Regions from separate parts of the Homo sapiens genome. Here all the other regions are linked to region 3. Evidence: promoter capture Hi-C in human tissues and cell types (Jung and others, 2019). All regions are on one chromosome and are shown on one strand. Each heading gives the region's core, a stretch centred on a gene start or on the middle of the fragment in contact. The rest is flanking DNA. Distances are from core to core; before and after follow the strand shown. Region 1 has its middle 7.8 kb from the start of ZFP41. Region 2 overlaps NRBP2 (nuclear receptor binding protein 2). Region 3 holds the start of ZC3H3 (zinc finger CCCH-type containing 3).

What was found. Contacts are between HindIII fragments. The study calls those that stand out against the background at their distance.
Region 1: a contact is called between a fragment that was not itself captured here and the fragment with the promoter of ZC3H3 in region 3, in 1 of the 25 tissues and cell types used here (dorsolateral prefrontal cortex).
Region 2: a fragment that was not itself captured here is called in contact with the fragment with the promoter of ZC3H3 in region 3 in 1 of the 25 tissues and cell types used here (dorsolateral prefrontal cortex).

The regions. Positions count from the first base shown.
Region 1 is chr8:143,237,800-143,240,499 of GRCh38, forward strand. No RefSeq gene overlaps it. Among named protein-coding and RNA genes, the nearest start is that of ZFP41, 7.8 kb to the right of the region's middle. The HindIII fragment of the contact is 3,747 bases long and covers 1-2,700 here.
Region 2 is chr8:143,834,458-143,837,157 of GRCh38, forward strand. NRBP2 (nuclear receptor binding protein 2) reads right to left here. Exons shown (of 18, transcript NM_178564.4): 14 at 2,582-2,700; 15 at 1,670-1,723; 16 at 1,510-1,573; 17 at 1,363-1,418; 18 at 1-1,273. The coding sequence ends at 1,205. Among named protein-coding and RNA genes, the nearest start is that of MIR6845, 2.0 kb to the right of the region's middle. RefSeq lists an enhancer at 2,364-2,700. The HindIII fragment of the contact is 3,184 bases long and covers 1-2,700 here.
Region 3 is chr8:143,540,069-143,542,768 of GRCh38, forward strand. It overlaps ZC3H3 (zinc finger CCCH-type containing 3), which reads right to left and starts at 1,379. Exons shown (of 12, transcript NM_015117.3): 1 at 1,308-1,379. The coding sequence starts at 1,353. It also overlaps the pseudogene RN7SKP175. The HindIII fragment of the contact is 13,358 bases long and covers 1-2,700 here.

The DNA of each region.
Region 1 (2,700 bases), core at 33-2,532, 300 kb before region 3:
ACACAGATAATTTGCACAGGAAGAAGCCCTGGCCAGGTGTACTGCTCACGCCTGTAATCCCATGCTTTGGGAGGCCGAGACAGGCAGACGGCTTGAGCCCAGGGTTTCGAGATCAGCCTGGGCAACATAGCAAGGCCTCGTCTCTACAAAAAAAAAAAAAATGAAAAAATTAGCCAGGCATGCCGTTGCACGCCCATGGTCCCAGCGACTCAGGAGGCTGGGGCAGGAGGATCGCTTGACCCAGGGAGGTTGAAGCTGCAGTGAGCAGAGATGGAGCCACTGCACTCCACCCTACGTGACAGAGCGAGACCCTGTCTCAAAAAAAGAAAGAAAAAAGAAACCTTGCAATGATCCTGAGAAAGGACTTTTAAATGTAGCGTGGAAGAGCTGGACAAACTGCAGCCTTTTGGTATGTCCATGTAAGTTCTAGAATTAGCTCAGAGAGTGGGTTTATGCTGGAAGGGAGCTTCCTCTACTGCCCAGCCTGTGCCACCCTGGATAAGTTACCTCTGAGTGAGTCCGTTAGTGGGTGAACATGGGAAAGATTACGTAATTGGAGAATAAATGGATTTACCACCAATGTCTTGTCATAGATTATAAGCCCGAGGGGCGGGTGTTAATTTTTCCAATTAAATTGGTGTGACATATAATTAAGGAATGTGCTCACAGGTAAGGAGCTGGGGTTTCATGGAAGAATGATTCTGCTTAGTGGCCTGACATTTTTGTGTCTCTTGCTTGCTCTGCATGCAAAAGCCTCACCGGTTCACTTGTTCACGCGGTCTCCTCGCCTGTGCTCCAAAACAGAGATTCTGGACCCCGGCCACACACAAGAATCATCTGGGGGTGATTTTTCAAAACGCTGATGCTAGATGCCAGCCCCTCTGCCCCTACCCCAGCTACAGTGGGATCTCTTAGAGGTGGGGGACTGGTCAGCATTTCTCCAAGCTCTTAGGAGTTTCAAATGAACAGCCCGAGCTGTGCCCCACTGCACCAGGGAGCTTGTGCCATCTGCTGCCACTCAGGCCCTGCCTGATCATCAGAGTCACTGGGAAGCTTCTAAAATTACAGGTTATGAGGCTTAACCCCAATGGCATTCTGTTTGACCAGCTCTTGGATGATGTCTGGAAATCCCTTTTTTTTTTTTTTTTTTTCTTAAAAAGATTCCAAACTGATTCTGATTATGAGCAGGTTTAGGAACCAATGCCATAAAGGGCGTGAAAACCAAGGTAGCAGCTGTCCCGCCAGGCAGGGAAGACCTGGGCACTCCCTAGGCCCTGCCATGCCCCACACCATCCTGGGCATCCTCCATCTTCACACCATTTGGTCTTCATTGAAGATCCCATGAGATCCTGTTCCTACCCCGTCATGCAGGAGGGACCGCTGAGGGCATCTGAACATTGTGCAGGAGGGAACGCTGAGGGCATCTGAACATTGTGCAGGAGGGAACACTGAGGGCATCTGAACATCGTGCGGGTGGGAACGCTGAGGGCATCTGAAGTTGAGGAGCTTGCCCACATCAGCAGTGGGGTGCAGGGGTTGGAATCCAGACCCAGACCCGCCTGCCTTGGCTCCATCCCACCTGCTGTCCGAGACTCTGGGCGCCTGCCTGTGGATCCAGGCTCCAGCACACCGCTCAGCAGGCCCCACAGTCCTGGGAGGTCCAAGCCCTGGAACAAAGCAAAGCGCAGGCCTGCGTCTACACACCTGTCTCTGTGGGCTCTGTTCCTCTGATGCAACCCTGACGGATCCATTAGTATGACTGGAATGTCCTTGGGATCAAAACTCACTTTTTTTTCTTCTTTAGACAGAGTCTTGCTCTATCGCCCAGGCTGGAGTACAGTGGCACATTCTCAGCTCACTGCAACCTCGGCCTCCTGGGTTCAAGCGATTCTCCTGCCTCAGCCTCCCAAGTAGCTGGGATTAGAGGTGCCCGCCACCATGTCCGGCTAATTTTTTTTGTATTTTTAGTAGAGACGGGGTTTCGCCGTGTTGGTCAGGCTGGTCTCAAACTCCTGACCTCATCATCCACCTGCCTTGGCCTCCCAAAGTGCTGGGATTACAGGCGTGAGCCACCGCGCCCGACCGGAATCAAAACTTTCTAACTTCTAAAAGTTAGATTCTGGCTTCTAAAAGTGTGGCGCTGTTTTAGGATGGTTTTAGGATGGCTCAGTCCATCCAGTGGGAAGATTCTTTAAGCCCCTTGAACGTTTGGGCTGGAGAGAGAGTGAAATGAGGGCAGAGGTGCTGATTGGCCCCACACCAGTCACTGACAATGGCAGCTCCCGAGACGGCCATGGGTGCAGCCAGTGGGCACATTGCCCCCATTTTAAAATAACTTATAAATTACAAGCCAAGTTTAGCAAGTGGGTACTGCACTAAGGGCTTTGTGAGGACTTTTCACGTAGCCTTCACAATGACCCCACAGGGCAGGTGCTATCATCTTGCCCCATTTGACAGGAAATCTACTGACCATCCCAAGGCACACAGCCAGCAGTGGTGCTGATGTCCAGGCCCAGTGCTTTGACACTGTCGAGTTTCTTAAACCCTCTGAGCCTTCATTGTTTTATCTGCAAAGTGGAGACACCACCAGCAGTGAGTCAAGCACGAAACTAGGTGATTGATGCCTGTGCCCAGGATGCCGGGAGGATCTCAGCCACAGCTGTTGCCTGTGCCAGCCGCTGCGGAGAAGGATGCCACAGG
Region 2 (2,700 bases), core at 21-2,520, 290 kb after region 3:
AGGCAGCCTGCCAGCCTTGATTCTAGTCCAGTGAGACCCATAGTCAGACTTCCAGCCTACAGAATTGCAATAAATTTGTGTTAAGTCACTAAGTTTGTGGTAAATTTTACAGCGGCAGTATAAAACTAATACAGTGGTGTGCCTTCCTGGTTGACATTTGAAATGCGTTTAGAAAGGCATGAATGCGCTAATGTATACATACAGTTTAAAATGCTTAAGGCCATTTCACTAAGTTTGGAATTGGAGGAGAGGCAAGCCAAGAATCAAGAGGCCAGGAAGGCAGGGGTAGAATCCATGAGGGCATAGAAATCTCTAAGACTGAGCCAGGAGTGGAGTGGGAGAGAGGCAGGGAGCCAGGAGCTGACATCCTCAGAGGCCCAGGGAGCAGCTGCCCCAGGGAGGAGGTGCGGGAGGTAACATGGAGGGGCTGTGAGTCTGAGGAGCAGGGAGGATGTGGGGTCCCTGACGCCTCCAGGCCAGGGAATGCATGAGAGAAAAAGCCCATTGGAGGGGCTGCAGTGGCCAGAGGAGATCTGCAGAGGGGCTGCAAGTTCTGGTCTCAGGGTGGGTAAAGGGTCAAAGAGGTGGCTCTAGGGCAGAGCTGTGTGGGACCAGGGGCTTTGCTGACAACAGCCTCAACTCCAGACCTCTCTGTGGTCTGTTTCTCCTGCCAGGTCCCTGTTGTGCCCAGTGCCATGCCTGACACCTGCAGGTGTGTCACCGCTGGCTTGCTGTGCAGGCTCCTTGTGTGGGTCTATGGTGCCAGCAGGGGATGGCTGCTCTCCCAGACCCCATGGAGCAGTTCCCTGGGCAGAGGTCTGTCCAGGGCTGACCCTCACCCCCAAGCCCCAGAGCTGGGGTTCCCTACAGGGCAGCCTCCTGCATGCTGAGGAGGCAGTGGCCCCGGCCAGGCAGCCTGGGTAGGAACTCAGGGCGGAGAATGGAGGATATGGGAAGGGGTTCTGGGGGCAACCCTGATCCTAAGGACCTGGGAGGCCTAACGGCTCCCCCACACCCACCCCCCAACCCCTCGGCGCCCAAGGCAGGGTCAGCCCCACTCTCAGGAGACGGGGGGTTCCTTCACTACCGGGGCCTTTGTGCTCCCAGGCGCATGGAGGAGGGCAGCCCCACGGTGCTGGAGTCTCCCCAACATGGCCTGCCCAGGCAGCACCCCGGCATGGTCCCCTGGGGCTGGGGCTCCGGGTCAGGCCTGGGTCCCACGGTACTTGAGGAAGGTGCTCTCCAGGAAGGCGGCCAGCTTCATCCGGTCGTCCTGCGGAAGGAGGGAGGCATGGGGGACGGAGGGGCGCGGCCTGCCCCGTGCGCCCCCTCCGCCAGGCCGCGCCGCACCGCCCAGCGCACCTCGTGGAGGAAGCCATAGTGCACGAGCTCCGAGGCGAGGTCCTGGGCGCTGTCCGCTGAGGCAATGGCGTAAGGCGAGGCATGAGGCCGCTGCCCACCCGCCGCCTGGGGTCACCGCCCGCCGCCCAAGTCCCCTGCCCAGCCTACTTGGGAGCAGGTCGTAGGTCAGCTGCCGGTGCAGCCGGTCTTCCAGCACCAGAAGCAGAGTGAGCTGGGGAGGCGGCGGGGCGTGGTCGGCTGGGGGTTCAGGGCTCCGCCACGCTCCCGCCTTCCCCACGGCAGCGCCGCCCTCCCAGGCCCCGCTCACATGCCAGCGCGCCTTGTCCTCGCTTCTCTCCAGGTTGCACTGCATCTGGATGACCTGCAGCGGGGGAAGGCTGGGACTCACAAACCCAGCAGCAAGACCACATGCCGCGGCCCCAAAGGGGCCGGGAAGGGACAGCAAAGACTGGAAAGGGGGGAATCTCTAAGAGGAGCCCATCTCACTGCTAGTGGCTTGGCAAGCTAAGGAAAGCTTCGAGAAGAGTCGACATTAGGGGCTGGGTACTGAAGGCTGAATAGGAGCTTTCACCGCGGAGAGAACAACTTGAACAAAGAGGGAACTGTGGGCGTGGGGAAAGGGAGGTTGGGCGGGACAGGACCGCGCCGAAGTGCACGGTGCCTGCGGGATCAGGCCTCCCAGAGCCTGGGTGTCAGCTGAGGACTCCCATGATCTCTGCTGGCAGCCAGGAGCAGGCAGTTTGCCTGTTAGGACATGAATTCTGGCTGCACTGCACCGAGAGAGGCCCCTGGCCAGGAGGGGGTGCTGCAGGAAAAGTCTGGGGAGACACCAGGACATAGATGTCCGGGAATCAGCACCAGGTGGGGGATGGGAGGGGTGGGGGGGGTGGGAGGGGTGCGGGGGTGGGGGAAGATTGCTGGCAGGGTGGAAGAGCCCGGGTGAGTTCTGGAGGAAGGATGCTTGGAGTAGGTTCAGGGCAGGCAGCAGGATGCAGGGGAAGGATCTGAGGGGACAGGGAGCCTCCCGGAAAAGGAGAGTGCCCAGCCTGTCCTATAACCCCCATGACCCCCACAAGGGGGTCAGCCTGGATCTGGTCTCTGGCAGCCAGGAGGAGAGCTGGGCTGTGGGGATGCAGGCCCTAAGAGAAGGAGGGGCACCTCTTATCTGGCTGTTAGAAGGTCTGAGGGATGGCACTGAGCAGCAGGAGAGGGGACTCACCTTTCTGGTCTCAGAGTCAAAGGGCTCTGGCGTCGGGGTCTTGGCCTTTTGGACCTCCTCCGGGGGTGGGGCCAGCACACGGGGCAGCCCCAGGGGTCGAGTGGCTGCAAAGTTCATCA
Region 3 (2,700 bases), core at 129-2,628:
TGACGCCCCAGAGCAGGTGTGATGGGAGCTCAAGAAGTGTCCCCAAGTGGGAGGCAGCCCACCTGGCCTCTTATCCATACACACTTTCCCAATCCTTAAGTCTTCCCTTTGTGAGAGTAAAAGCAAAAAGGATTTTTAATTTTTAAAGCTTTTTTTTGTTTGGTTGGTTTTGGCTTTTTATTTGAGATGTGGTTTTTCTCTGTTGCCCAGGCTGGAGTGCAGTGGCCCAATCACGGCTCACTGCAGCCGGGACCTCCAGGGCACAAGCAAACCTTCCACCTCTGAGTAGCTGGGACTACAGGCGCAAGCCACCACGCCCATCTCACTTTTTAAAATTTTTCTGTAGAGACGGGCTCTCGTCATGTTGCCCAGGATGGTCTCAAACTCCCGGGCTCAAGCCATCCTCCTGCCATAGCCTCCCAAAGTGCTGGGATTACAGGTGTGGGCCACTGCGTCCGAACATGGATTTTCTTTTTAAGTTTAGAAAGACCAATTTGGGTTTTTTAATGTTTAAGTGTGGAAGCTGAAGCCTGTTCAGTCTGCGCCTGGAATGGCAAGGGGAGTGTGACTGTTCGGAGAAAAGGGGCATCAAAACCGGGCGTCGAGGCTGGGAGCGGTGGCTCATGCCTGTAATCCCAGCACTTTGGGAGGCCGAGGCGGGTGAATCACCTGAGGTCGGGAGTTAGAGACCATCCTGGCCAACATGGTGAAACCCCGTCTCTACTCAAAATACAAAAATTAGCCAGGCGTTCTGGCGCCTACCTGTAATCCCACGTACTCCGGAGGCTGAGGCAGGAGAATCACTCGAACCCAGGATGAGGAGATTGCAGTGAGCCGTGATCGCGTCACCGCACCCCAGCCTGGGTGACAGAGCAAGACTCTGTCTCAAAAAAAACCGGGCGTCAAGGAAGGAACCCGCGTGCGCCCTTAGCCTGCTCTGCCGAAATGAGCCATGAACTAGTCCCAGCCCCGCAGTGGGGCGCGGGGAGAGAGTGGGCGCCGGGGGACGCGACAGCCCGCGGTGGTGGGGAGGGCCGCCGCCCCCCGCGGGTTACTAAGCGACGGCCCTGCCTCCACCCTCTGCAGCCCCAGCAGGGCCGGCACCACTCCCTCGACAAAGCTGGAGCCGGGGACTGACCCGGGCCCTGAGCCGGCCCACAAGTCCTGGCGGACCCTACCGTCCCCCACCCCAGCCGCCACCCAGAACACGCGGGCGGTGAGCGACCCCTTCGACAAGGGGGCAGGGGACCCGCCGCGAGGTGAGGGGGAAAGAAGGGGACTCGCGTCCCGGCCCCGGCCGGACCTACCCTGCAGTAGGCGGATCTGCCGCCGTAATATCTCCTTTTCCTCCATCTCCCGAGTCCGCGACGGCCGGCCAGGCCCCCACGACGTCATCGCTACGCGACCTTTTTCCCGCGGGCGGGGCGGAGCGGGCCAGGGCGGAGCTGCCAGGAGCAGGCCCGGATGTCTGCCGACCGCCGAGGACCCGCCGTCGCGCTGACAACGGCAGCGGAGAGGCAGAGCCGCGCACGCGCAGAACGAGGCGGGGACGTCACTAGTGAGCGCCGGGAAGTGGCCTGGTAACGGCTGGGAAGGGACTGCTTGGGCTCTGGGAGGCCGCGCGGGCCCAGCTTGTGCAGTCCGGGATCGCGTCCCCTTGGGAGACTTGGCGAGGGGCGAGACCTGGGGCCCACCCAGCCCATACCGCAGTTCCTTCCCACAGTCCCTGCGTTTCATTTCGCCCCAGTTGAGTGTTGGGGGGGGGGGGGTCTACGCGGGGACCCATGGGAGAAGGGCCAGTTAACAATTACTCTTGACCCAGGAGGGTCTGTGAAACCTCTTACTGTGGCCAGAGGAGAAGACATCGGAGAGCAAGGTTCCCTGGATAGACATGTTGAACCTCTGAAAACATGAAAGTTTTTAGTTCGTCATTGGAAACATGTACAAGTGTAAACCTCTGTGCGCTGTTGGTGGGAATGTAAATGGCGCAGCACCGCAGAAAACTATGGAGATTCCACAAAAGGTTAAAAGTAGAACTACCGGATATGAGGGCGATCTGGCTGCGACACCTGTCATCCCATTGATCGCCAGGGTTGATTCGGCTGATCTGGCTGGCTAGGCGGGTGTCCCCTTCCTTCCTCACTGCTTCATGTGCGTCCCTCCCGAAGCTGCAGCTCAGTCGAAGAGAACGACCATACCCAATAGAAGAGCTGGGCTTCCCTGGTAGAACCTCCAAACAAGCTCTCAAGGTCCATTTGTAGGAGAAGGTAGGGTAGTCAAGATTCCAGACACATCCAAATGAGGCGCTGCATGTGGCAATCTGCCTTTCTAGGAGAAAACAAAAATGGAACTACGGTATGATCCAGCAACCCTACTTCTGGCTATATTCCCAAAAGAATGGAAACCAGAGACTCAAACATATTTGTGCCCCCATGTTCACTGCAGCATTTTTCCCAATAGCCAAAAGACGGAAACAACCCAAGTGTCCACGGGTGGATGGAAGGATAAACAAAATGTGATCCATACAAACAATGAAATATTTTTCAGCCTTAAAATGGAAGGAAATTCGGCCGGGCGCAGTGGCTCACGCCTGTAATCCTAGCACTTTGGGAGGCTGAGGCGGGCGGATCACGAGGTCAGGAGTTTTGAGACAAGCGTGGTCAACATGGTGAAACCCCGTCTCTGCTAAAAATATAAAAA